Linked DNA regions of Homo sapiens: all the other regions are linked to region 1. Evidence: promoter capture Hi-C in 16 types of primary human blood cells and fetal thymus (Javierre and others, 2016). All regions are on one chromosome and are shown on one strand. Each heading gives the region's core, a stretch centred on a gene start or on the middle of the fragment in contact. The rest is flanking DNA. Distances are from core to core; before and after follow the strand shown.

The links. The method cuts DNA at HindIII sites, captures the fragments that hold promoters and counts their contacts. A CHiCAGO score of 5 or more calls a contact.
Region 2: a fragment that was not itself captured here is called in contact with the fragment with the promoter of DENND1B in region 1 in 2 of 17 cell types (erythroblasts and M2 macrophages); the score reaches 5.6 in erythroblasts.
Region 3: a fragment that was not itself captured here is called in contact with the fragment with the promoter of DENND1B in region 1 in 1 of 17 cell types (M2 macrophages); the score reaches 5.9 in M2 macrophages.
Region 4: a fragment that was not itself captured here is called in contact with the fragment with the promoter of DENND1B in region 1 in 1 of 17 cell types (fetal thymus); the score reaches 5.4 in fetal thymus.
Region 5: a fragment that was not itself captured here is called in contact with the fragment with the promoter of DENND1B in region 1 in 1 of 17 cell types (M0 macrophages); the score reaches 5.4 in M0 macrophages.
Region 6: a fragment that was not itself captured here is called in contact with the fragment with the promoter of DENND1B in region 1 in 1 of 17 cell types (M2 macrophages); the score reaches 8.1 in M2 macrophages.

What each region holds. Positions count from the first base shown.
Region 1 is chr1:197,773,098-197,777,522 of GRCh38, reverse strand. DENND1B (DENN domain containing 1B) reads left to right here and starts at 2,043. Exons shown (of 23, transcript NM_001195215.2): 1 at 2,043-2,384. The coding sequence starts at 2,368. RefSeq lists an enhancer at 826-875 and silencers at 1,250-1,544, 1,836-2,035, 2,186-2,695. The HindIII fragment of the contact is 6,146 bases long and covers 1-3,549 here.
Region 2 is chr1:198,665,365-198,669,789 of GRCh38, reverse strand. All of the region lies in intron 2 of PTPRC (protein tyrosine phosphatase receptor type C), which reads right to left. It overlaps PTPRC-AS1 (PTPRC antisense RNA 1), which reads left to right and starts at 2,648. Exons shown (of 3, transcript NR_199042.1): 1 at 2,648-2,791. RefSeq lists an enhancer at 1-1,026. The HindIII fragment of the contact is 1,485 bases long and covers 1,109-2,593 here.
Region 3 is chr1:198,640,132-198,644,556 of GRCh38, reverse strand. All of the region lies in intron 2 of PTPRC (protein tyrosine phosphatase receptor type C), which reads right to left. Among named protein-coding and RNA genes, the nearest start is that of PTPRC, 3.3 kb to the right of the region's middle. The HindIII fragment of the contact is 4,043 bases long and covers 1-3,956 here.
Region 4 is chr1:198,612,684-198,617,108 of GRCh38, reverse strand. No RefSeq gene overlaps it. Among named protein-coding and RNA genes, the nearest start is that of PTPRC, 24 kb to the left of the region's middle. The HindIII fragment of the contact is 1,812 bases long and covers 1,548-3,359 here.
Region 5 is chr1:198,494,797-198,499,221 of GRCh38, reverse strand. The region is part of intron 1 of LOC105371677 (a long non-coding RNA gene); the gene reads left to right. Among named protein-coding and RNA genes, the nearest start is that of ATP6V1G3, 44 kb to the left of the region's middle. The HindIII fragment of the contact is 2,471 bases long and covers 1,081-3,551 here.
Region 6 is chr1:198,464,903-198,469,327 of GRCh38, reverse strand. All of the region lies in intron 1 of LOC105371677 (a long non-coding RNA gene), which reads left to right. Among named protein-coding and RNA genes, the nearest start is that of ATP6V1G3, 74 kb to the left of the region's middle. The HindIII fragment of the contact is 805 bases long and covers 1,336-2,140 here.

The DNA of each region.
Region 1 (4,425 bases), core at 794-3,293:
TTTTCTAATTTTTTAACACCTCATGCATGTAGATCATGTACACCTATGTTCCTATCCCTTTTATTTCAGTAATAACAGAACAGATAAATCTCTTCATTATGGTCAGCCTAAAAGCTCACTTAAAAAGATTTGCTTTGGGATGCGAATGTGTAGTATTTCCCTCGATGTACTTAACATAAATGGAATGAAGAACAATTTTATACTGTTCAAGGGTATGACTGTCATTTAAAATAAAATCCCAACAATGGATGAGGAAAACAATTGTATTATTATCTCCTCACACCAAATTAAAAAGTCCTCAATATGGTCACCCCAAGTAGGGTTCCTTTCTTTGGAAATAATTAATTATAATGAAAGGAGAAGTTTGAGAAATTCAGTAACAGTTGGGGCAGAAGTGGCTTTTAGCTTACGAATTTTTTTTTTCAAGGCTTTGGAGTATGGTCACTTATGCAGAAAAATCTTTATTTGGGAAAAGAAAACTTATGTAGTATAGTTTGCCTAATTGTGAAACTGAAATTCACAGAATAATTTCTCAAAAGATAATACAAATTTGTAGCACCTGTTTTACTTGAACATCACACTGCTCATGTGATGTACAAGTAATAATTCCCATTTTACAAATGTAGGAACCGAGAAACTGAAGTGTCTCACCCCGAGTCAAGCTATGACAACACTTTATGATAAACACATTTTTTTTTTGTTTGTTTGTTTCCCAGTTATGGCCCGTCCTCATTTTTTACTAACAGGCCCATGGCTATACAATATTTCTGATCCTGTTGACCAAGTAGTACCCAATTTTGGCAAGAAAGTTTAAGGTTATATAACTGAGTGCAACTTCAGGTTCTCTGACTCTTGAGTTTTTTAATTCTTAAGACTCCTTTTCTGACTTTTATGTCTTATGACTCACACTACATTCATACCACATTTGGTTTCCTCTCATCATCTTAACTTCTGCATGAATAAAGTCTGAAGTAACCACCTTTTGGAAGAAACACTGTGGCTATGTGTCAAGGGTGGCAGTGTTAGCTGGGAGAAGGCCTTTCCCAGAAGATCTCTGTGTAAGAGCCTGGCCTTCCACAGTCATTTGAATGTCCATCATAAGACTTTTCTACCTGTCTTCTCAGTAGATCCTAAATATGAGACAGCAGAGGAGGGAGACAGGCAATATGAGGTAGAAGTAAATAATCAGCATCAGATAGACCTGGTGTGAACTCCAGCTTTGCCATTACTCCCTGGTTTCTTCATCTGTAAAATGCTGATGAAAGTATCTATCACACACCTATGACAAGTACTGGGTGAGAGTGCACATAACCTGCTTCACATGTGCTTTAGGGCTGTGTAAATCAGTCCCTCCCACGCTTATTCAGTGGTGCCCTCTCTGAACTCGCCTAAACTGCCAGACTATGAGGCCTGCGACTATGTACATGTGTTCAAAAGTTAGTCCTTGGTTATCACTGCAGTCTGTGGTATAGGAATGTCTGCCTCCCACATGCGCAGACAAGTGGGGCACTACCATTTGGCTACTTGACAGGGCTATTTAGCAGGTGCACATGTCTGAACATTCCTGAATCAGGAGGGGGTAGCTCTGGATTTCAGAGAGCTGTAAGCAGGCCACAGCTGGAGTGACGCAAGAGCCAGGGGCATCAACTTGAGCTCTGAATTTGTAGTATGAAATGAAAGGAACCCAAGTCCGTGTGTATGTGTGTGGAAAACACTGCAGGTCGAGGTACTTTTCCAGGTACTTCGCCCTTTGTGGGGTTGCAGCCCCGACGCCCTGGAATCTGGACTGGACCCAGAAAGGAAGCCGGTTTGGTTCATGCTGAGGACACAGGGGGCACCTTGCCTTTCTGGCTAGGTGGCAAAGCGGTACGTGGGCCATCCCAGCAGGCACTAGCGCTCCCCCTGCACCCTCTGGCCGCCCGGGCGCGGGGACCTGGCCCCCGCCTCCTCCACAGTCTCCGACTTGCGAGCCGCACGGCCCAGGTGAAGCCGCTGGGCGCGTCCCCGCGCGCCCCTTCCCCCTCCCGGCGACTTCCTGATTTGCAAGAAGGTGCAGGAGCCGCAGCGGGCGGCCCCGGTCGCAGGAACTGAGAGGCCTCAGCTTTGGTGGCGGCTACCGGCGGAGACGGGGGCGGCGGCCACGCCACCGCTGCTGTCACAGAAAGGCTCTGGTGGGTGGGGTGGGAGGCGGGGAAGTGCCGGGGGCGCAGCCGACATGGGCCCGCCGCCACGGCTGCTGTGAGCAGCCTCTTTCCCTGTGTGGCCGCCGGCGTGGGCGGGGACGGCGCGACCCTCGCGCGGCCGGGCTGCGGGCTTCCAGGCCAGCGCGCGGGGGCCGGACGGACAGCCCCACACCGACATGTAACCATGGACTGCAGGACCAAGTGAGTGGGGGGGCCCGGGCGCGTCGGGGGCGGGCGTCCCTCGGCGGCCCCTCCCAGGCCAGCTCGGCTCCTCCGCGCCTCCGCGCTCAACCGGCTCCCCGGGCGGCCGAGGTTGGCCGGGCGGGCTGGGGGTGCGGTCCGGCCCCCAAGCCTCTGGCCGGCCGGCGGGACGGCGCTAGGCCGCAAAGCCTGCCCGCCCTGCGTCCCCGGCCCTCCGTGGTTGGCGCGGCTCCTCCCGGAGAGGCCACTAGCGCCTTGTCGACGCCCGCCTTTCGGGGGACAGGGGAGGCCGGGCGGCCCCTGACACCGCCGCTGAGGGGTTCTCGTGCTTCCCCCGAGTGTGTCAGATGTGACTCTCCTGGGGCTGCCTGTGTGCGTGTGGTGTCCGGGAGGGAGTCAGCGTTGAGGTTAAGAGGTTATTATTCCGAGTGCTCTCTGAGCATTAAATATAACCGGTGTTTTCTTAAGTCCGTTTGTTACTTTTGTCTTGGATGTTTTCTTATGATTCTGCTTATAAAATTAGATTGGTCTCTGGTGTTTCTTTATGCAGCAACTGTAGATGCATGGTTCTTGCAAAACGGTATCCAATTAGAGGGTACTTTTATGTGTGTGCTAAAGTATTTATCAACGACTACTTTGCTCAGGAGATTAGGTAAAAAGCAATTTTAATAACGGTGGTGATTTTGTTTCTAGGTATCTTAGAGGCATGAGTTTTATATTTTTCTTCTGAAACTTAACTTTGGAAAGAATTCCTTTTTACTTCGCTTACCCACCCTTTACTATCTCCTTCTCAAAAAGTTTAAAATAATGCCATGTATATTTGTATTATTGTGAAAGGCCGTTTGAATTTCACAGAAGTAAAACTGAGTCAATATTTAACTTTTACACCTAAGAGAAATTCTAAAGAATATTAGGGAAAGAGGGAAATTATGTAATAGAATTATTTTCTTCAGTGTGTTTGACATCATGGTGGGCAGGGTAAGTGAGTAAAAATAGTATGCTTCTTGACATTAATTGTTTTAAGAGGGAGGAAGTCATCTGAGCCCAGATTATTCCCATTGAAACAAGTTAATAGCGGAAAGGCTAAAAAAATGTATATTTGCATGTTAATTTATATGTCTTGTCACTTCCTATGTTTCCAGATTCATATCTTATAAGAAAAGCTTCCAAAAAAAGAAATGCTTTTTTTTAAAGTCAGAGCTGGCATTCGTTTCTTGAAGGAAGTACATATTAAATACAGCCAATGTACAAAGGCACTAAGGTCTTGTTAGCAGGAATAACTGAGATATTAACACATTGGCCGTTGTGGTAACAGACTTAATCTTTTACCTTATGATGGAACGAGAGATTTAAACAGCAATGTTATGAAGAAAAAGTGTCTCAGTATATTTCAGTTCACTTTTTGAAATTTAACCAATGTTGCTTTGAAATTTTGCAAATATGGCAAGTTAGTAAAAAAGTCAATAACTTCTGAATTAAGCAAAGTAAACTTACAGTTTCTAGTGGGAAAATCTAACATGGAAGCAGATGGCTGGTTTCTCCAAAGATAATGGATAAAAAGAAGGCTTTTTATGTTGCTAGCCTTAGAGCTATGAATAGTTTGCTACTTTAAATATGCATAAGTACAGTAAATACATTTTAAGAAAAGTATATGCAACGTATCACATTCATGGAGCATTATCAATGTTTTATGGTGATCTAGAACTTGGCAGGTGGAACCATGTATTCATCATTTACACTTATATTGCAAGTCCTTTGGAGACAGCCTGAGAACCTGTGTCAAACTCTGTTGGCAGGGTATAATGACACTTAGGGACACTCTGGCTTTTAAATTTGATCCAATAAGATAAAACCAATACTTTGCATTTTTGTAGCACTTAGTACTTAATGAAGTACTTGCACATATGTTATTTGATTTATAATCCTCACTATTATTCTGTGAAGTGGACAAGGCACCTCATAGGTAAGGGAGAACAGTCTCAGCGTTTAAATGCTTTGCCCCAAGTTTCAGAATTCCTAAGTCTCAGCTCTTTTAAGTTGC
Region 2 (4,425 bases), core at 602-3,101, 890 kb before region 1:
GTAAGCTATTCAGTTAAAATAAAAGCTGATTTTAAAAAAATTTCCTGATTGTATCTCTTTGCACAAAAAATATGTTCTTCATTTTCTTTGGGGGAAAGAAGGGGTCTGGGAGTGGCTGGCAGGAGGTCTGGATTAGATTCTGGCTCTACTTCTAGTAGGAATGGGTAAGTCAGGGATTCACCATGCCGTGGATTCCATGTCGGTGGGATTCAGCAGTGGGATATTAGGGAAGCTTAAAACATAGTATAAAAATAAAGTGAAAACTTTAAAAAGTGAAGGGAAATATAAATACATATATTTAAATCTAATAATACATTTTTTTCAAAAGAAGTAAATAGTTTTGTGAGTATATAGCAGATTAGGTAGTATGGTGGACCACACAGTACATGAAAGGAGGCCAGAAAGCATAAAAGGAGGACATTGGGTGCAGGTGGGTGCCTGCGGGCACCAGAAAAGGCTGGCAGAAAACAGATGTGAGCATGACCAGTCAGAGATAAAGAGCCTTATGCAGGAATGTGGTGACAGGGTAAACAACACTAAGCATTAGTCATTTCCAAACATACTCTCAAATCTACCACGGTTTGAACTCTGAAAATAAGTGTGTTCATTTTTGTGGTTACTATGCAACCACTTAGATATTTCTTTGTAATTTTTGCCCAATCTGCTAGTTTTGGGTACTATTTCAACCATTTTATTTGCGAAGAAGTCAATCCTTTGTAACTATTACCATTAGACTGAATCACATAAAATCATTTCTTTTGTAGGCCAGCAATGACCAAATATCATCACTTTCAAATGTTTGAGCCTATATGTTACATTACACCTACTTTATGTGTTCAAATATCTTCAATTTAATTGTACCATAGCTCTCAGGTGGTCTTATTGCTGCTTCCATGGATAGATGGCAGGTAAAGTGGGGTTTTCTTATGCTCTCTTAATTTCCCTTCGATACATATCTATTCACCTAAAGACTAATCCTTCCACAGGAAGAAATGGATTCCCCAACTCTGAAAGGCTAAACATTCAGCCATGCCCTTTTGGGATCTGAAATCACCTTTCCTTATACAGAACCTACCTAATTCCTTATCAATCATTCTTGCTTCAAGCTTGGTCATGTATCTTTTCTATAAACTATGTAATTAGAATTATCAGCACCATTTTATATTTACTTTCCATGTACCAAGGGTGTTTATGTAAGTTCTCAGGCCCCCTTACTTATGCTATCTCATACTGTTAATTCCTTATAGTGTTATGAAAGATGCTTGGCAAAATTAAAGCACTCAATTTGTATGCAAGTCCATAACACGCACATTTTAATACTTCCTGTTCCTTTGTGTTATGCCCTTCCCTCTCTTCTTTATCTATCTAACTCCTGTATTGTCTTCAAAACCCTAATTTGGGTGACATTATTTTTTGCTACCATGTTACTCTGTGCTTATGTTTATATATAACTTAGCTGGGCATGGTGGCATGTGACTATACTCAGGAGGCTGAGGCAGGAGAATCACAGGAGCTCAGGAGTTTGAAACCAGCCTGGGGAATATAGTGAGACCCTGTCTCTAAAACAAAAATAAAAAAAAAGACATCACACCATGATACCACTTTGGATTTGAGTAGCTGGAATGCTCTTCCTCCAGATAGCCATATGGCTGGCTTTCACTGTTTTTGCTGGTTGTCCAATGTTTATTTCTATAAGATCATCCCTGCCACTCTAACAATCATTATTCTACTGTTAGGAGAGTATATTTTAACTCTCACATCTGTATTCAGTTAGCTACAAGCTAACATTGTAAGCTAAGTTGTGTATACAAGCTAACACATGCAATTTTCTAACATTGCTTTGCAGAAATATGACTGATTGCCTACTTCTTTCCAGTTTTTATCTTTATCTCAATCTTTTCTCTTGCTGTGCACTGCCTAGAATGCCTGAGACACAGCTACTACCTATTGAAATTATAGGATTAAAATTCTATCAACTGCATGGAAATTTCCTTAAACACTCCACTTTCACTGATACCTTCTTTTATGTTTCCATGACATGTTATGAATTGACAGTTTGTATATGTGTAGATGTCTTGTCCTAGAAATAAAATAAATATGTTTTCAAGGCAGAGACTGTGACTTTCTTTTCTATATTCTTACTAGGATCTAGCTCTGTGCTTTGCAGTTAGCAAGTATTCAATAGCACAGCTAGAATAACTGAATGAATGGATGAGTGCCACCTACTCCTTTATTGTCCATCAATAATGCACCCAAGGCTAAATCTTAGCTTTCCAAACTCACTTGGCCAGACCAGTTGACATTCTTTATTCCCATCTGAGGAAAATTATTTTTTTTCAGTCTTTGTACATTGGGAAACTTGTCAGATAAAAGGCCTAATATAGATTCAATCATATAAAATGACTATGAGCTATGGCAACTAGAAGACATGATAAACATTCCAAAGCTATTCATAATCCCATTCTTCCTTGTTAAATGCTACAATAGAGGCTGGAAAACAAGAATAATTTCTTTCTCAGGGACTCCTTCCCACCTCTGACAGCAATGAATGGTTATATGTTAAATTTCTGGCCAATAAGTGTAGACAAAAGCTTCTGGGGAAGGTTTCCATCCCTGAATAAAGAGGCAAAACCTCACTAGGAAAAATATATTACCACTTTGCCTTCCCTTTCTTTTTGCTGGAATGTGATGAAAGGTGTGGACGCATAGCATCCCAAATGAGATAGGAGATGCTGAGCATGAAGACAAAAGCCTATCGAATGGGGTGTCAGAAAAGAAACATCAAAATATCGTAAGTTGCTTAGGGCATTATTATGTCTTTGTACTAGTCATGGATTTCATTCCTTTAGATCTTTAGTTGTAGAACTCCAATGTATTTGAACCACTAGTGATCACATTTTATTTTGTTTGATAGCTGAATACAAAGCTGGCTGATGCAGTGATCTACAAGGTCATGACTGAGGTATCTTATACTCATCCTCATTCAAGCAAGATTATGTTTAACTTAAAAAGACAAATGAAAAGGAATCTATTTTAATAAATATATTATTGGTGGAAATATTCATAGTCTACCTTGAAAGGAGTGTTATGTTAAGATTGCTTTGCTTGTAGAGTAATTTATGCCTTTAATTTCTGTGTCTAGTCTTTCTAAGCCAGAATAAAAGTCTGTTCATCATGATCTCTGTTATAGCCCTCCGCATATTTGAAGGCTGCTGTTATATCACATCATATATTAAGCTCAGTTAATAGATTAACAGACCCTTTATTTTTACATTTACTATAGCATCTAACATGGTTAGCAAATGCTTTTATTATTTCTTTATTTTCTTTATAAGATAAATGGGTATTACATATACCAAAGCATCTGTTTTGGAGCCACTATGATCACTAAAAGAATCTTTTCATTGTTCCTACCTTCTCCTTCCTACATGTGTGGAAAAAACACATGATTCCACACATACACATGGTTGTCTAATTCTATTGTTTAACCCTCCATGAATAGATGTCCACAATGCTCCCTACATCTCTCTTTTTTTTTTTTTTTTTTTTGAGACAGGGTCTTGCTCTGTTGCCCAGGCTAGAATGCTGGAGTGCAGTGGTGTGACCATGGCTCACTGCAGCATCCATTTCCTCGACTCAAACAATCTTTTCACCTCAGCCTCTCAAGTAGCTGGGACCACAGGCACTATACCCAGCTAATTTTTGTATTTTTTGTAGAGATGGGATTTGCCATGTTGCCCAGGCCGGTCTTGAACTCTTAGGCTCAAGTGATTCTCCCCCCTTGGCCTCTCAAAGTGCCTATGTCTTTAAATGTGAGTATTTGAGCATATTGAATGATGATGACCTGCCCTTTGCTGGTAAAGATATACTAATAACATAATATAAACAATACGTACACTTGGGATGTCTTTCCAGGGCTGGAAAGAGAATCATATTCTGTTTTTCCATGTTCTCATTTTATCCTGAATGTGCCAATTTAATTATTTGCCAACATGTTGCCAGACATGCTCCCTAGTCTGTGCTAAAGCATTTGTTACCATGTACTACATTGAACATACTTGAATGTTTCTGTCATGTTTACCACCCAGATGGTGAGAATCCAAGGAAAGGAGACACTTGTATTAAGTTCACAGTTTATCTGTTCTTGGAAACATATAACTGCATGAAGAGATCAGGATGAAAATATCGTTATAGTTACCCCAGTTACCTCAAGGTGGAAGTCTGGGTCAGACAACCACGGGGACCTGCCATTGCAAAACTTCTCTGTATATGCCTGGGGGACCTGGCTGTTCTAGTTTTTCACCATCTTTGACATCTGCTTGTTCTCACTTGGCTCCTGCCTTACCCTCAGGGTCTCAATAATGACTTCTTGACTTTGACAACTTTGACAAAAATGCATTCATCAAAATTATAATAAAAAATAAA
Region 3 (4,425 bases), core at 686-3,185, 870 kb before region 1:
CAGACTGATATTGAAGTAGCACACTGACATACAAACAGGAATGAAGATTAAATATTTTAGACAATAATTAGATATTTTCTAATATAAATATTGGTTAGAGCCAGGTACACAAAATCCAGTGATTGCCATAATTTTTATTCCTGTATATTTGGGTATTATATAGAAATAGGCATCAAATCATATTGCTAAAGTCTTGCCATATTTTTTTTCTGGTGTATCATATCTTAAAAAGTGAGGTCTTTATGTATGCAAAAGTCATAGCACTAAGCCTTTGGTAAAAGGCCACTGCTATGGGATTGAGTATCTAGTACTTACAAAGATATTTAGACTAGACAGAAATTAATTTTAAACTGAAGATATGTTAAATTTCCATTCTAATTGTTTCCCATGTAAATAACTACATAAATCTATAAGATGTCTAGAAAAAAAAATCAAAGGTCAGCACTGATGAAAAATTTCTCTCTCTGCACCAAGGTGACATATACACACATGGTCTGAAGATGAAACCTTGCCTTTGTGAACATTGTGTATTTACCAAGAGAATGAATCAACCTCAGTACAAATCTCTGCCCCTTACCTACTCAGATTGACATTCATCACCACACTGTCTGTAAAGAAATTATTCCCAGCTCTCTACAAACTTTTGTCGTGCAAATAATGCAACACCTAGGGTGCACCATATTCCATCTGCCCTTGCAAGCAATCCCAGAGCACTAGCATCAGTGTTCAAACCAGCAATTGCCATGACTGGACCTGATCTGTTTGTGTTATCACTCCGCTACATTTGTATTTCCCTCCCATTCCTTGCTTTTTCTCCTATGGGTATGTGTATCTGAAAAATAAAATTGACCCTCCAAATTACATTACCTAGAATGTCCAAAGAGCAGATCAAAGAAAATTTAGGAAAAACATTCTCAAACTATGAACTTTTAGGAAGTCAGGAGGCTCTTTCCAGACGAGAGGTGAGATAAGGAGAGTAAGAAAGGGAGCAAAGAAAAAACAAACAAACAAACAAACAAAAACAAAAAGGCAAGACTGTAAACATCTAGATCCAAAATCAACTTAATTTAATCTGGACAAAATAGTCCTGCTGTCTTCATCCTCCCACTTCGCCTCTGGTTAATTTTTTTATCTCATATTCTCCCTCTTTTTGACTTCCCTCTTTGAAAATTTTCCTTTCCTTTGTCACTACAATATGCAGTTTTATTTTTTTAATCTATGATTTATTCAGTGTCTGGTGAAAAATTAGGTATGGGAACTATGAGTTTATGCCTTTTGTGTCTCCTATACCTGATTTCATGTAGGTTACAATGTCAAGAAATCCACTAATTCACATGTCATCATCATCATCAATCATCATCACAAAAAAGAGCAGATTGAAATGACTTGAAAAATGCCAAGAAAAGGTGATAAAAAGTGTGCAATTCAATGGAAATATTTTGTGGCAAAAGTGACATAAGAGAACATAATAGAAGAAGTAGGATTTGCCCAGAACCTTAAACACCTTGAGAAAGTATAGAGGTGGGTGTTAAAACTACCTCCTGTTTGTTTTCTTTTAATCAATCATAGAAGAAAAAGAAAGAAAAAAGAAAGAAAGAAAGAAAGAAAGAAAGAAAGAAAGAAAGAAAGAAAGAAAGAAAGAAAGAAAGGAAGAAAGAAAGAAAAGAAAAAAGATCCCTTCCCAGCTCCAGGCCTAGCCCCCAGATCATTAGTGGAACCAGTTTCTCTGGCAAAAAAGATTAGAATTTATACCAAAGGCAATGAGAAGAAATCAGTAACCCTTCACTTTTTATTTTACTTTTTAAGCTGTAGATTACATTAAAAAAAGGATGAGACTTCAGACTGATTAAAAAAACTATTACAATTTTACAGGTGAGAAATAATAAAGCCATGAATTAAGATGATGGCAATGGAGGTGTCAAAGCAAGAAGTTATTAGAGATTATTACAAAGCAAAATTTCAGGACTTGGGGAGCATGTTAATGTCTGGATTTAGGAAAGGTAGTAAGTTCCGTGTTTCTGAGGGATGAGTCTAGAGATGGAGAATCAGAGTGATCAACACATAGTAGGCAATGATACGTAACCAAATGGAGAAAAGAGAACACAGGCGAAGGTCTGAAGTTCATGGGAACGCCAAATAGACAAACATGGAGAACTGATAGATAGATAGATAGATAGATAGATAGACAGATAGATAGATTGACTAGTATATATAACCCACAAATATATAACTAGTTTATGTGTGAGTATCTACATAAAGAAATATATGTTCAAGTATATGAACAATGTAGAAACATCTATATTTCTATACTGGTTAATTGTCACTGGTGAGAGGATAGCAAATAGTCCAGAACAAAGAAAGAACTAAGTTCAAGCTAACTACTCTGCCCCTATACTTACTTACACAGAACAAAAGAGAAAAAGATAATATAGGCCCTAGCCGTAGTCTTTCCTGTAACAAAGTACATTTCAAACTTTAGCAATGATAAAGGTCACAGGCAGGTTTTTAGTAGGACATTTTTTTTCAAATTAATAAGTAATTCTAATCACATTCCCAAATCTCTAAATTATGGAGTATTTAGAACTTAATAGGACTGCTTACCAAATTCAATTAAATAATTTTCATTGAATGTCTGTGATGTGCAAGGCACAGTCCATGTTTATAACATGAGATATATATTTTTAATACAGATGGAAAAATGAAGAATTATGTCCAGGAAATGAGTCTTAACTGTTATGACTCATAACAAAACTCATCATATACCTCACATACCATAACTCATATACTCCTAACTGCCATGCTATAGTGTGGTAGATCTGCCTGGCATTACAACTTTATTAGAACCAGAGAACACTCACCTTCACCTGCCTTCTTAAAACCATCATTGTCCCCTAACATTATTTAGAAATTCTAAACAAAGTTTGGCTTCCAGTTGCCATGGCAAAGAGGCACAGAGCAAGAGGATTAGGAAGTCTTGAGTAAAACTGAACCCTGCCTGGTTGTTGCCGTGGCAAAGATTAACTTTGGCCTTGTCCGTGTGTGCATTTTAGATATTAAATAAAATATTTGAATTATGCATAGAGTTACCATTGATGGCTCTCTACATTTGGCTCTATTTCTTTATGCCTTTACAGCATACAATATAAATTTTGTTCCCCAAAAGTTTATTATTTCCTGTAGGCACTAAACTAATTTTAACACGTTAAAATGAAACATAGAATCCAACTCATTTGTTGCTAAAAAAGAAAAATAAATAATTTAAAGCATTAAGAATTTTCCAAATTATACATTAAATCACAAAATGTTTCTTGCAACTTGAAAGGATTATAAACAATATTTGCAGATACAAATGATTATATCTGTATATGTTTTTCCACAAATAAGCATATATCTCAGGGAGTCTACAAATGTCTTTTAGAAAAATGTTTGCTCTCAATATTTATGTGAGCAACTGAAGATAAAGTTGAGTTTTCAAAATAAATTTATGTATATCCATTTATTTGCTATGGTATAAATCATTCAGCAAAGTTGATATAAAGGTTTCTAGACCCCATCATATTATTTCAATTATAAATTCAAAGATGTGTCTTATGGTTAAAAAAACATCCTGTAATAGAATGAGTTGAATTTTTATTCACAAAGGAAATATTTCACACTCTGATTTAAGCATATAATAGGATATTTGGTCTATTCAGGAGGTTGGGAAGTTTGCCTGGAATAAAAAGCAATGGAGCTAGACCTGAAGAAAATAATAGAAGTTAAATGAATATGAAGAGAAGAAAAATATTCTGGCTTACAAAATGTCTCAGTATTTCTTTATGCTCATTTAAAAATGCTTTTCGACATTTCCTGAGTGGGAATTTTAAATGAAAATCTGTTCTGATTTGTGATAATATACATATATCACTTCATTGAGATTATTATTCTTTATAATTTACTTTTTATTATCATAAGCTTTAAAGGGATGGTAACTTGATAAACATTTTCTGTACTAAGACAAATGCTGCAAATATATAGATTTTTAAAAAATTCACCTTTGCAATAAAAAGCAAAACAGCCACAACAACAACAACAAAAATCTTATGTTGTTTTTCTTTCCTCTTTCTTTCCTCTCCAAATAGAAATTGTCAATGTAACATGCTCAAGAGGTAGCTACTTCCCTGACTTTCAGAGGAAAGAAGAACGGTAAAAGTCAAAAAAAGACTTCAAAGTGAATTGTAATAAGCAAGTTGTTTTAAAATACTTTTTATACTTTTTGGAATTTCTACAAAAATTTTATTTTCAATGTCCTTTTAGATACTACATCATAAAGAGAAATATTAAATATTAATTATTAGTTACATTCTATAATCTATTGAAATGTACTCATGATTCATATTGACGCCGCTCAAGAACTATCCATTGAATAGACCATAAATGTGCAAA
Region 4 (4,425 bases), core at 1,204-3,703, 840 kb before region 1:
GAAAATTGTTGGCCATCTGAAGTTCACGAAGATATTCTGCTATGATTTCTTTTTGAACATTTATTATTTGAGCATTCATATTCAGATATACAATCCATCTGGAATTGATATCTGTCCGTGATGTTGAGGTATGGGTCGGGATATGTATTTCCACATAGTTTATCCAGCTGACCCAGCACCATTTACTGAAGAAAAAACAACAACAACAACAAAAAAAAACACCCCTTCCTCTGGTGAACTGTAGTGGTATCTTTGTCATAAATTGTAAAACAATTTATGTTTAGGTTTGTTTCTGGATTCTATTCAGCTCTTTAGTTTATCTATTTTTACACCAACACTCAAAATTACTTTACCTTTATTAATACTCATAATTACTGATTATTATAGGATTTTACTCTCTCTTTCTTGCTTTTATATATTGATATATAAAAATGTAAGCCCCCCAGCATGGCTCCTCAACATCATCTTGGCTAATCTTGGTCCTTTGCATTTCTTTATACATTTTGGAAACAGCTTGGCAATGTTCTCAAAATATCTCCTGAGATTTTTATTGAGATTGTATTAGATACAGCAATTTAGAGATAATTTATTTATATTACTTGTCTTTCAAACTATTAATATGGTATACACTTCCATTTATTCAGGTATTCTTTCATTTTTCTTGGGAAAGTTTTATTGCTTTAATTGTAGATGTGTTACATACTTTTATTAGATGTATTCTTAAATAGTTGATGTTGTTTTTGTTTTTTTGTCTTTGTTTTTGTTTTTTTGAGACAGAGTCTCACTCTGTCACTCAGGCTGTAGTGCAGTGAAACAATCTTAGCTTACTGCCACCTCTGCCTCTCAAGTTCAAGTGAACTGTGCCCAGCCAATAGTTCTGTTTTTGGATACTATTATAAATTGCATTCTATTTTTACTTTCATTTCCAATTTGTTTGTTCCTGATATAAAGAAATGTAGGCCAGTTGTGGTGGCTCACACCTGTAATCTGAGCACTCTGGGAGGCTGAGGCAAGTGGATCACTTGAGATCAGGAGTTCGAGACCAGCCTGACGAACATGGTGAAACCATGTCTCTACTAAAAATACAAAATTAGCTGGGTATGGTGGAACACACCTGTAATCCCAGCTACTTGGGAGGCTGAGATAGGGGAATCACTTGAATCCAGGAGGCAGAGGTTGCAGTGAGCCAAAATCAGGCATTGTACTCCAGCCTGGGCAACAAGAGCAAAACTCTATCTCAAACAAACAAACAAATAAACAAACAAAAAAAAAAGAAGAAGAAGAAGAAAAGGAAAAAAGAAACGTAATTGATTTTTGTTTAATGACCACATGCTATTGTAATTCAATGCTGCTAAAATCACTTACAAATATCAGTAATTTGCAGATTAATTTGGATTTTCTATGTACATGGCCATATTTCTGCCATTCTTTGCCTTATGCCTTTTATTTCTTTTTCTTGCATTAGTCTACTAGGATGGGCCTTCAGTATCTTGTTGGGAAGCAGTGATGACACTGGACTTCTCAGTCCCAAATACAGACAAAAAGCTTTCAATAATATCACATTTACTATAGGATCTTCTGTAGGTTTTTACAGAAGCTCTTTGTCAGATTAAGAAACTACCTTTCTCTTCCCAACTCTCTAAGGTGTTTTTCTTTTTTTGAATCATAAATGTGTTTATATTTTCCTGCACCTGAGGAGATGATTATAGGATTTCTCTCTCTCATTATCTGTCTCTTTTTTTAAATTACGTGGTAAAATTGCATTGATTGTTTTTGAATAGTAAACTTTCCCTTTCATTCTTGGAATAAAGTCCACTTGGTCACAATATATGGTACTAGGTAGGTCTATTATTCTTTTTACATTTCACTAGTTTTATGTACTCATATTTTACTTAGTATTTTTGCATTTTTTCTGTAATTTGCTAACAGTAAATTTTTGATAACAAGATCCTGCTAGGCCAGGCACAGTGGCTCACACCTGTAATCCCAGCACTTTGGGAGGCCAAGACAGGTGGATCATTTGAGGTCAGGAGCTTGAGACCAGTCTGGCCAACACGGTGAAACCCTGTCTCTACCAAAAATACAAAAATTGGCTGAACCTGGTGGCTTACGCTTATAATCCCAGCTACTCAGGAGGCTGAGGCAGGAGAATTGCTTGAACCCGGGTGGCAGAGGTTCCAGTGAGCTGAGATCGCACCACTGCACTCCAGCCTGGGTGACAGAGCAAGACTCTGTCACAAAAAAAAAAAAAAAAAAAAAAGAAGAAAAAAAGATTATGCTAACCTCTTAAAATAAAACGGAAGTGTTTCCTTTTCTGAGTTCCCAAGAACAGTTTATACAAGTGAATGTTACTTCTTACAGTAGAGGAGAAAAAAGTTGTATGTTTTTCTCACCCATTTCAAGATTCACAGGTGAAATTTATATATAATGAAGGTTTTATGTGACATGGGATCCTTCAGAAATGAAAACCTAAAGACCCAGGGAAGACCATCTGTTTCTTTGCTAAATCTAATAAAAGAAGCCGGTAATTTTATAGAAATATGATTGGACAAAAACATATGCTCTAACGGGAATAAACTGAGCAAGGCCTGTGTGTTCAGGCTTCTTGGCCTATCTGTGCAACATTTCTTTCTTCTTGGCACAGTGCAGGGCATCTGTCACAGGAGGGTCTTATGACCTACTTTCAGGAAAAGTAGGTCATAGACTGTTCTTTCTAGGTTTTATGGCTTGCTTTGGGGGAGAAATTGGGGCAGGAGGCAGAAGGATGGAAGAAGGTCAGAGAGACCTCACTTCTGAGGCCTTTTGTTTTCTTGAGCTCAAAGACAGTCAGCATGGCAAGGCACGATACTTTGGGGTATGATGTTCTAAACCCCAAAATTACAAAAAGCATTTGGGCCTGGAGGATTTTTGAGGGGGAAGAAGAGCAAAGGTTTTTGATTTTAAAAAAAAATCAATTTGTAAGTAAAAAAACTTTTAAACTTTCTAAGTCTTCTTGAGGTAGTTTTGATAAGCCATGTTTTCAAAAAAGTTATTAATTTAATACGAATTAACAACTTTATTGACACAATGTTACTCTTAATATAATTTTACTAACTCTTCAAAGTTTACAAGATGAGTAACAATACCACCTTTCAAGTCCTGGTATTGGCATTTTATATATTCCATCTTTTTTTGTTCGTTTGTTTTCCCAGAGATTTATTGATTTCTTCCAATAACAGGGTTCTATGTTTTCTTAATTTTCTCTTATAAATTTAATTTATATTTCATTGATTTTTTATTCCTATCAATCTTATTTCCTTTCTTGTACATTATCTTGGTTTGATTTGCTATTCTATTTTTAGTTTCTTGAATTGAAAGCTTCGGTCATTGATTTTTAATGTTCAATATTTTCATATGTTACAATCTTAACTCCTTCATCTCTGAAGCCATTTGGGTTCACAGATCATTTAAATGACCATTAACTGGCCAGTCTCAGTGGCTCACACCTGTAATCCCAGAACTTAGGGAGGCCAAGGCGGGCAGATCACCTGAGGTCAGGAGTTTGAGACCAGCTTGGCCGACATGGTGAAACCCCGTCTCTACTGAAAATACAAAATTAGTTGAGCATAGTGGGGCGTGTCTGTAATCCCAGGTACTTGGGAGGCTGAGGTGGGAGAATCACTTGAACCCAGGAAACAGAGGTTGCAGTGAGCCAAGATCATACCATTGCACTCTAGCCTAGGCAAAAGGAGCAAAACTCCATTTTGAAAAAAATAAAAATAATAAAATAAAATAAATGACCATTAACTTATCTAAGATCAGTGTGACATGTTTATAAGTTATACAAAGTGAATGATCAAATATTCTAATCCAGGACTGTCTGACAACTAAGTCCACGGTCTTTCCTATTCATATAAAGTTGATCATATAAGCCAGGAAGTAGATGATATCCCCCCACCAAAAAAAAAAAAAAAAAAAAAAAAAAACAAAAAAGAAAGCAAAAGTAAAAGAAATGAATCTTGACTAATATCTACTTCTTGTCAAGTACAGAGCAGCTTCTGGAGGAAATAGAGAAGGAACAGGAGAACCAAGAGAGTTATGTCTAGAGACTTCCTAATTGTGGAGCCTTAGACAAGTCCTTCCAGATTCCGAGATCACTGTTTCTTCATCTGTAAAACAAGAAACATGAACTAACTATTTCCAAGGTTTTTCTCCACTATAACAGCTGAGTTTCAAAGAAGAAATGATGATTAATGATGTTAAATGTTGCAGAGAGGTTAAAAAACATAGTTTAAGAAAAAGACAATAAATTTAGTAATCAAGTAAGCATTATACTTAAAGTGCGATCCCAATTACGAGCATTTTTAAGATAAAATGGGTTTTATGCCTTTCTCAAGTAGACAGGGAAATCTGTGAGACGAGACATCAACAACATTTGACATTTGG
Region 5 (4,425 bases), core at 1,067-3,566, 720 kb before region 1:
ACAGAACAAAAAATTGAGGCCTCAAAAGGTTAGAAAAAACTTTCCCAAGATTACATAGCTAAATTTGTGGAGCTGGAATTTAAGCTCATGCCTGTGGATTTCATAACCCAGTATCTACTACACTAAACAGCCTCAGACAGGCAACTCCACCTAAAGCAAGCCTGGGGCACAGGTAAAGAGGAATGCTGTTCCCAGAAGGGTTTCTAAAGCATCTACATGAAAATGAAGAATGTGCAACACCTTATCTTAGAGATTATTCATTTACTGAGTTCAGGTCAGGGCTGATAGCCAGGCATAGCAGCTTCTTGAAACTTTTGAGAAAGAGCTAGAGTCATTTTAAATGGAAGAAGTAAGCACCATAAAAAAACAGAAAATAGAAACTATGGCTCTAGTCAACCTACTGTGAACCTTAGAATATTCATGATTCTGGGCACATAAAATCTGGCTTCCAGAAACATATCAGAAAAGATTCACACCTCTTTTTGACTTAGATAAAATTAAATTTATTTCTTGCAATTTTCCTTTTTCTGTAACTTTTTGTTTGGAAATGCAGCCACAGGCATAAATTTTCATATCCCAACAGGCTCCACAAACTGAAGACAATCTAAGTTTAGCAGTCATATTCATATTCAAATCTATTCCTTTACTAATTCCACAGATATTGCCAGGTATTTGATCATAGTTACTTGAGATACAACAGTGGAAAACAGTCCCAGATCCCTCACCTCATTGAGTTTATATTCTAGCAGGAAGACAAGACAAGGTTTTAAAAAATGTAAAAAACTAAGTTATATTTTCAAGTTAGAAGGTGATGAATGTTATGAGAATTCCTAGAAGTTGTAGAGCAGGATGTATTATTCAGTATGGTTGGCCTCATTGTGTAGGTGACATTCATGCAAAACTTGAAGAAGAGGAGGTCAAGGCGATTTTTGGCATATGATAGATTGCAATTTTGTCTAAAACATATCATGCCTCTCTTTTTGAGATTATAAATTCCTGACCAATTGACATAAATTCCTGCCCACAACTTTTTTAGCTAAAGAAATGTGATTGGGATGATGTATCCATTTCCAAGAAGCTTTAAGAGCCACATTCTTTCATGTTTTCCCACATTTCCTTTTTATCTGCCACTAGATTTTTAATGTCCAGATAAGGGCTCATCCTTTGGCCTGGGTACAATCCTAGCACAATTTGGAAAGCTATTGGTGGTGAAACTTTGGCAAAATATAAATCTTTGTTTTTATGTGCCATGAAGATTTGGGATTCTTCTAAGCTCCCTCATGCCTACACAAGAGCTTTCAGGAAGAGGAAACAACTTAAGCAAAGGCCCTGAGGCGGGAGCATGCCTAGTGTGATTGAGGAACAGAAACAGGTCAGAAAAGTAGAAGTAGAGTGAGAAGTGGGAGATTAGCAGGAGAGACATTCAAAAATAAAACTACAGCATGTAGCCCATGGTAGGAAATTTGGCTTTCACACTGAATAAACTGATGAGTCATCCGATCTAAGTAGAAGAGTGAAATGGTCTGATTTCAGTGTTCAAAGGATCACTTTGCTCTATTGAAAATAAACTAAAGCATGATAAGGACAGTTATTGGTAGAAATCTTGGGAGGCTATCGGCAAGAGATGATGGTGGCAGCAAGGATGAGGGTACCAGCAGTAGCAGAGGTCATGATGAGAAGTTAGATTCTGAAAATCTAATCTGCTCAGTGGAGGGTGGCAGCTGGAGATTCTGGGCACTAGCTGTCATGCTCCCAGGGCTCTGTCTGTGAGGACTGAATAAAGCAGTAACTCATTTGTGTATGTGTATGTGTATGTGTATGTGTATGTGTATGTGTATGTGTATGTATGCATGTGTATGTATGTGGACACAGTGAAGAGGCAACAAAGACAAAGCAGACAGTCTAGGGCTCAGAGCAAACACAAGGCAGACAGTCCAGGGCTTAGAGTAATTTTGGGACAAATAAAAAACAAAATTGTAACCAGAAACCAGAATAAGTGTCGAGGAATTGAACTGTCACATATTTTGAGAACTAAAGAAAAGCCATACTCAGAGGCATATAGTTGCCCCAGGACGTACTTTATACCCAAAGATTCACCTACGCCCACTAGGAGTTAACAACCCCTATCAGGACTCATGTATTCCACAGATGCTAAGATGCCATAGTTACAAAAGCTCCAGATTCTACCTTGGCTGCTCTGGATCACGGAAAATTCCTGTGCCTATGCCAGCAGCTGGGGTTGTCAAAGCTGACTTGGACTCTGGGCATGGTGGCTCATGCTTGTAATCCCAGCAGTTTGGGAGGCCAAGGCAGGGAGATTGCTTGAGTACAGGAGTCCAAGATCAGCCTGGGCAACATGGTGAGATGCCATCCCTGCAAAAAATAAAAAATAAGCTGGGCTCAGTGGCCTACACCTGTAGTACTAGGGAGGCTTAGGTGGAAGGATCACTTGAACCCAGGAGGTCAAACCTGCACTGCAGCCTGAGCAAGAGCAAGACCATGGCTTAAAAAAAAAAAAAAAAATTAAAACATAAAAAAAAGCTGATTTGGTATGACTCATCCTTAGTTGTCTAACCGCAAATAAAATAAATATCTCTTAAGCATTCTTCTTCACAAAGCTCATGATTTCTCTTACAATTATTCATTCAGTTAACAAGTATTAAACACCAACGATAATTAGAACCCAGTCTAGGAGCTGGAATTAAAAACATAAACAAGAAAATACAACATGTCTACCTATCTTGAAAAATTCTTCATCAAATGTGAAACCAGCATGGGAATGGAAAATGGTACCACAATATGATGGAAGTATAGGAACGCTGTGGATGCAGTGCTGCAGCAGTGGAGAGGTGGAGACACGGCAGCAAGAGGGGAAAGGCATCTCCAGGAAGGTAGCAATTGAGCAGACCTCAAAGGTTAAGGAGGAATTTGCTAATAAAAGGGATGGGAGGTATGTAAAACCAGAAAACAGAATAAATGTCTAGGTTAGGCCATGTCATTTTGTTAGCTCTTTTTGGTAAAAATTTTATAAACAAGATCCAATTGAAAACTGAAAACTAATATTTTGTCATGTCATCGACATCCAATTTTAAATTCTCTATATCATCTTTTATAAGTACTATAGTCTTTATCAATTGGATGAATTATTTCACCTTTCCCTATTTACTTGTCACTGAAACAAGAAACCAAAATTTTCCGCATAGGTGCTTAAAAGTGCATAGAATCTAAAGTGAGAACTTTGGACCAGAGAACATTCCCACTCCATCAATCCCACCATGGTCCTTACTTCCAGACCAGTCTGCTGTTAATGCATTGGCTTCTCCAGGCTTTCATGTGGCATTAACCCACATTCTTTCCTCTCTCTGAGCACCTTTTCTCTCTCTGGAGCAACGTTCTAAAGACATTATTCACAACTTCTCTTTCCTAATCTGTCAGCTTTAATCCTATAAACCGACCACCACAAATACTTAAGGATGTCTGAAAGCTGTGCTTTTATCCTTGTTCAAATTTTTTATCTCCATATGTCACCTTAACCTTGTCTTACAAAAGCTTATCTCATTTTACTATTTTTAATACAATTTATACATTGAGTGTTTTAAATCCATCCACACTATCAATCATTTCAGCAGCTATTCATATTTATTTTGTTCTTTATGGTCAACTTTCCTCCTTTTTAGAATGTTTTCTATCTTCATATTTTACAGCATCGCATTCTCTATCACTATTCTCTGGTATCATGAAAAAATGAGCAAGACTTCTGATTTCTGGGTTATGTATTTCTAATACCATCCTTTTTTTATCAGTAATTTGCTCATCTTCTATAGATTTCTGCCAAGTTTCTAAGTTTTTAAGACATTAATGTTAGAGAAGAAGAAATCTTTCACTTTGTTTACCATCTCTCTTCCTTTGGTTCACTACCCTTATCCATTAAATGGGCCCCTTTTTCCCATTGGTAAAAAGAATAAATCTTAGCCTTTCACTGTGAACCTCATTGTTAGCATTTCTACAGGAACCAAATCATAGGAAGTTTTCTTTTACCAGTACATCTTTATGGCAGCGGCGGGCCATTCAAAGTGGCCACTGCCATCACACCGACTGCAGTGGGGAGGCGTAGGCCGTGGCAGCAGGACCAGGTGTGAGAGCAGCAGTGGCAGCACTGGAACCCCTGTGCCCTCTGTCCCTGAGGCATCCACCTGCGCCATCCCAACCCTCGTGTGGCCAGGGGGACCCTCTCCCAGAACCGGAGCCTCTGCCTCTTTGGACCCTGGCCCCATGACACCACTCTTGCCTGCCACTGCTGTGGGGAGGGTGCAGGGAGGAGGTAGACAGTCACCGGAGGTCACCCCTGAGATCCTGCTGCCCTGAGAGCTGCCATGTTGGGGCTGGGCCGAGCCACCCACCGGCGGGACAGCAGCTTGGTCTGGC
Region 6 (4,425 bases), core at 489-2,988, 690 kb before region 1:
ACTGAATGTGTTAATTACAGAGTGCTGTCAATTCTTCAGTCTGCAATTATCAACGTTCTTCAACTATGATATTTCCATAGCTTTAGCAACATAGATCTGTGCAAATATGGTACCTGAGAAGATGGAACATCCTTCCAAACATGCACTGGGAATCACCTCATCACACATGACTATTTTGAGCAGGATTTTATATGCTGCCATGAATTTTGATAGGAGAAAAACTTCTGTTCTCTTAAATCTCTATTTAAAAAAGAGAGAGGGAGGCAAGAAGAAAAAAAAGCAAGCCTGCAATTATCTACTTTTTTATACAATCAAATGTTTCCTACACTTACAGCAGCTATAGTTAAAGAAGTCCATGTACTAATTAATTTGAATTTGCTGTTTCATCATTGCATGCCAATTTATAGACAATACAAGCACACACAAAATTAAGTTCCTTGAACATAGTTAGACTTAAACCAATGTTAATTTTTATTTCCTTTCAAAGTCATTATCTGCTTTTAGATTGGACTTTCATTTTGTAACAAAGAGAATAATTTTTTAAAATTATATTTTTTAAAAATAGAGAAAGTTGGCTGTTTTTGATGGCCCACAGAAAAACTAAAATATAATTAAGGGAGAACAGATACATAGGTATGAAACTTGGTTGGGTACTTTCACTGATACTTGCACAAATTACATATTTACCTATGTTATGCCACTTCTAGAAGATGCTTGTTTAATATATAACATTATCTTTTACTGTTTTCACCTTAATTTAATTTCAAAAAATCTTTTTATAAATGGCTAGTATGTTTTGTAAATTCATGCATTCAACAAATGACCATCCACAGATACTGCATGCAAGGCTCTGTGCTGTCCTCTAGATGATGCAGAGATGGTTGATTTCTGGAATCTACCCACAGATGCCAGATTTACAAGAGGATAATAAAGTTTAAACATGTTCAATACCAAAGATGGTTTTTGGTAATACCCTGCAAAAGTTTAGACAAGACAGAAGGCTGATATTTTCAGGAAAGCAAAAAATAAATAAATAAATAAAATAAAATAAAATTTAAAATAATTCATGCTTTTGTTCCAGAAACATCAAAAAACAGATTTCTTTATTAGCTCATTCTGAGTTGCAAATTTTTTCTGGATGATTTTTTTGTGGTTGCAGCTCACTTGGCATCAGCTCCCTTTTTCTGCCAGCACAGCCAAGGTATTCCACGCGTTCACTGTAAATGGAAGTTTATACTGTGCTGGTGGACTGAGATTCCAGGAAGGAGGGCCTCCATGACATGGACAGACCTAGCTTTGTGGCACAAAGCACAACAGCTAAGTCAAATGAAAGCTTACAGTGGATGATAAAAAATAAATTCAGTCAAACAAATATGTTCTCCTAACTGCTGTAGCAAACTTCTTTCTTTCTCCTGGCTGCCAGCTCTTTTCAAAGATGATTCCCAAAGGCTTTTTTCCTTTGTTTAGGTTTCGTATGGGGTAAATTAATTCATGATTTGTTGTTAAAAAACAGTAAAAACAAAGTAAAACACACACACACACACACAAACACACAAACACCTCTTTCCCTAGTCTTCCTCAAAATACCCACAGGAACCCACCCAATAGAATGGCCTGAAACAAAATACTTTTGTTCAAAGCCAGCAAGTCTGGCAAAGCTGCAAGCTCTGCCCATAGCTACCTGTATCATGGGTAGCTGCAGAGAAATATGCAAACTGGCAAACTGGGTACCTTTTACTGTTTTACAACAATATGTTTTATTGTTCTCTCGCTAAGTTCTTTGCCAAGGGCAAAGAGTACTGAAGTAGCTAGCAACAGCCCAGACACAGCTGTCAGCATGAGCCTTACCACTTCTGGCATTGCTTTTTTAGCCAAGAGGCACTGCAATTGCTTACCAATAAGTTGTGATGAGTTGATAATGCAAGTAGACTAGATCATAAATATTTTAGTATTTAAGCATGCTTTTTCATTTACGGTGACTTAGTGCTGCAATGGCAAAGGACTTTCCCCTAGGATAGGCAATTAGGGATAGGTGGAAATGCATATTAGAACATTTATGATAATGAGAAAACTACTTTTAATTGAGTACATTAAGGCTGATCTACAATGATTAAAGCAAAACTCTATTCAAAATGAAGCTTTATTATCACATTTTAAAACCTATACTATGAAACAATTTTTAACTGAAAAATATTTATAAAATACAACTTTGCATCTCTAGTAACATCAAAACCAAAGTGAATTATCTGAAATGAACAAGAATGGGTAGGAAAAAGAAATTGATTACATATGACTAGCAGCAATTGATATAAAGCTACTCAATACGTTAATGGATCTCTGTACTGAATTTTCATCCACTCTTTAGGAATTCTCATTTAGTGTTTGATACTTCTGAATATTGTATTTAAGGATATTTCATTAAGGCTGGATTGTTTACAACAGTCGTAATTATTGTCCCATTCTCTAGATAACTCTGACACCATGGGTGATGACGCTCTGTATGAAACTTTGCATAAGGCTTTCCCTGCTTGCCTCTCTTGCAGGCAGTGTGAGTGACCCTCTCTCCCTATGTATGCATTTAATTCTTCCTCCCCTTACACTCACTTCCTAACCCTACTCCTCTTCTTACTGTTTCAGATCTAAGCTCTCAAAAACCCCTAAGGAAAAAAAAAGGCAAAGGCACATGTAGCTTTGTCAGTGCATTGGAGGGTATGAGACAGGGTTTGAATGCTAATTCGGCTACCCACTCTAAAATGAGGCTAATGATACTGCACAGTGTGGTTGGGAGATGAAATAACACATGCAAGGGCTTTTAAAATTTTAATGTGCAGAGAAATAGAAAACATTATTCTATTTCAATTCTGAAGAAAAATATGTAAATATGTCACATTTTGTCCCTTGATCAGCAATGGTTCCAAATCAAGAGTGTCTTAACTATGCCTGTTTCCCTCATAAATTTTACATAAAGTTCTGAAAATATTGCCACCATTTTATAAAGGAATGGACGGCAATCAAGGCAGAAACTGTTTGGAAAATAGAGGTTTGTTTGTTTACTTGAGGTGGAAACAATTCTCTCATCTATGTGTTGTTTATTCTCTTCAGTGAACATTTTCCTCTTTGTATCTCGGTTCTAAAGCCTCTCTGAGAACGTATATTTCAAAAGCACATGAAATAAAATCACATCGATCCTCTGTTTTACTTCATCTTGTTTGGGTGGGAGGAGATTTAATTTATATATGGTTGTGATTTTCATCATCTATCTTATGAAGCACCGTTTGGTTTTATTTGTGGGTTAGTTTCATCCTTAATACTCTTAAAAATAAAAGGGATATATGTTTTTGGTTATGTTTTGGGGGTTCTTTTCAAGCTATACTTTAATCAATGACTTCTCACATCAGTAAATGTGATAAAACTTCAATACCCAATCAACTTGTAATAATCCAAAAAAGAAAATGCTAGCCTGGATCAGCTAGGTGACTCTTTTAAACATAGAATTGAAGATAATGTGTTAAAGCCAATGCCTGATTTAAGGTATCTCCACAGTTGCTCCGATAATTCTGTTTTGAAGCACTAGATGGCACTATGAATTCACTTAATTTGGAACCAAACTAGCCCATCCATAATTTCAAAGAGAAAAAAAGATGAGACTTTTCCTTAACTGATTTGATAGTCTGACACATATGCTTAAGGAAATGAATTTATATGATGTAACAGTTATTTCATTAAGTCTCAGTGAAAAAAAGCATTCTCTTTTGGCAAGGAAAATGTGACTGTTTCTACAAACACAAACCAGTCAAATCAGCACTCAAAATCTAGTCAGAGAAAAAAAGAAAGTCAGACATGCTTGTTGGGCAACTTGACTGCTTTTTGACTGACTTAAATATTTTCTTGACTACTTGACAGTCAAAACAGTCAAGCCAGTTTGTGTGTGTCAATACAGACTGTACTTTATATGTTACAAAGTGAATGTCTATGTTTGTTAGATTTCTTTCCTGCCATCTTTGTAGTCTGGCTGGTTAGCTCAGCTGGTTAAGGCAGTCTACTAATGAGGCCAAGGTCACTCTGGTTTCCATTCCTGCCTTGGGGGATATGTTCTCCTCACAGAGGGAAAGGCTGCTCTTTGGCTAGGAACTGCATTCTTCACTCTGGACAGCCATCTCACAAATGCCTGATCTTAAAAGATTACTGCATATGGAAGTCTACATGATCAGAATAAACACATCATTATAAGAAGATAAAAACAACTCAAATTGTATATTGTATTAACAGCAGAACCACGATGTCATTTTTCTAAAGAAAGGACTCAAGAGAGTCCTTCTAAAATCAGCTTCATTAACTAGCGAAATTCTATTTCTTGTCCATCCATTCAAATATTGTATATTGTCAAGAACTTGCTTAGGCAGAGAGCTAGCTACTGGAGAATAG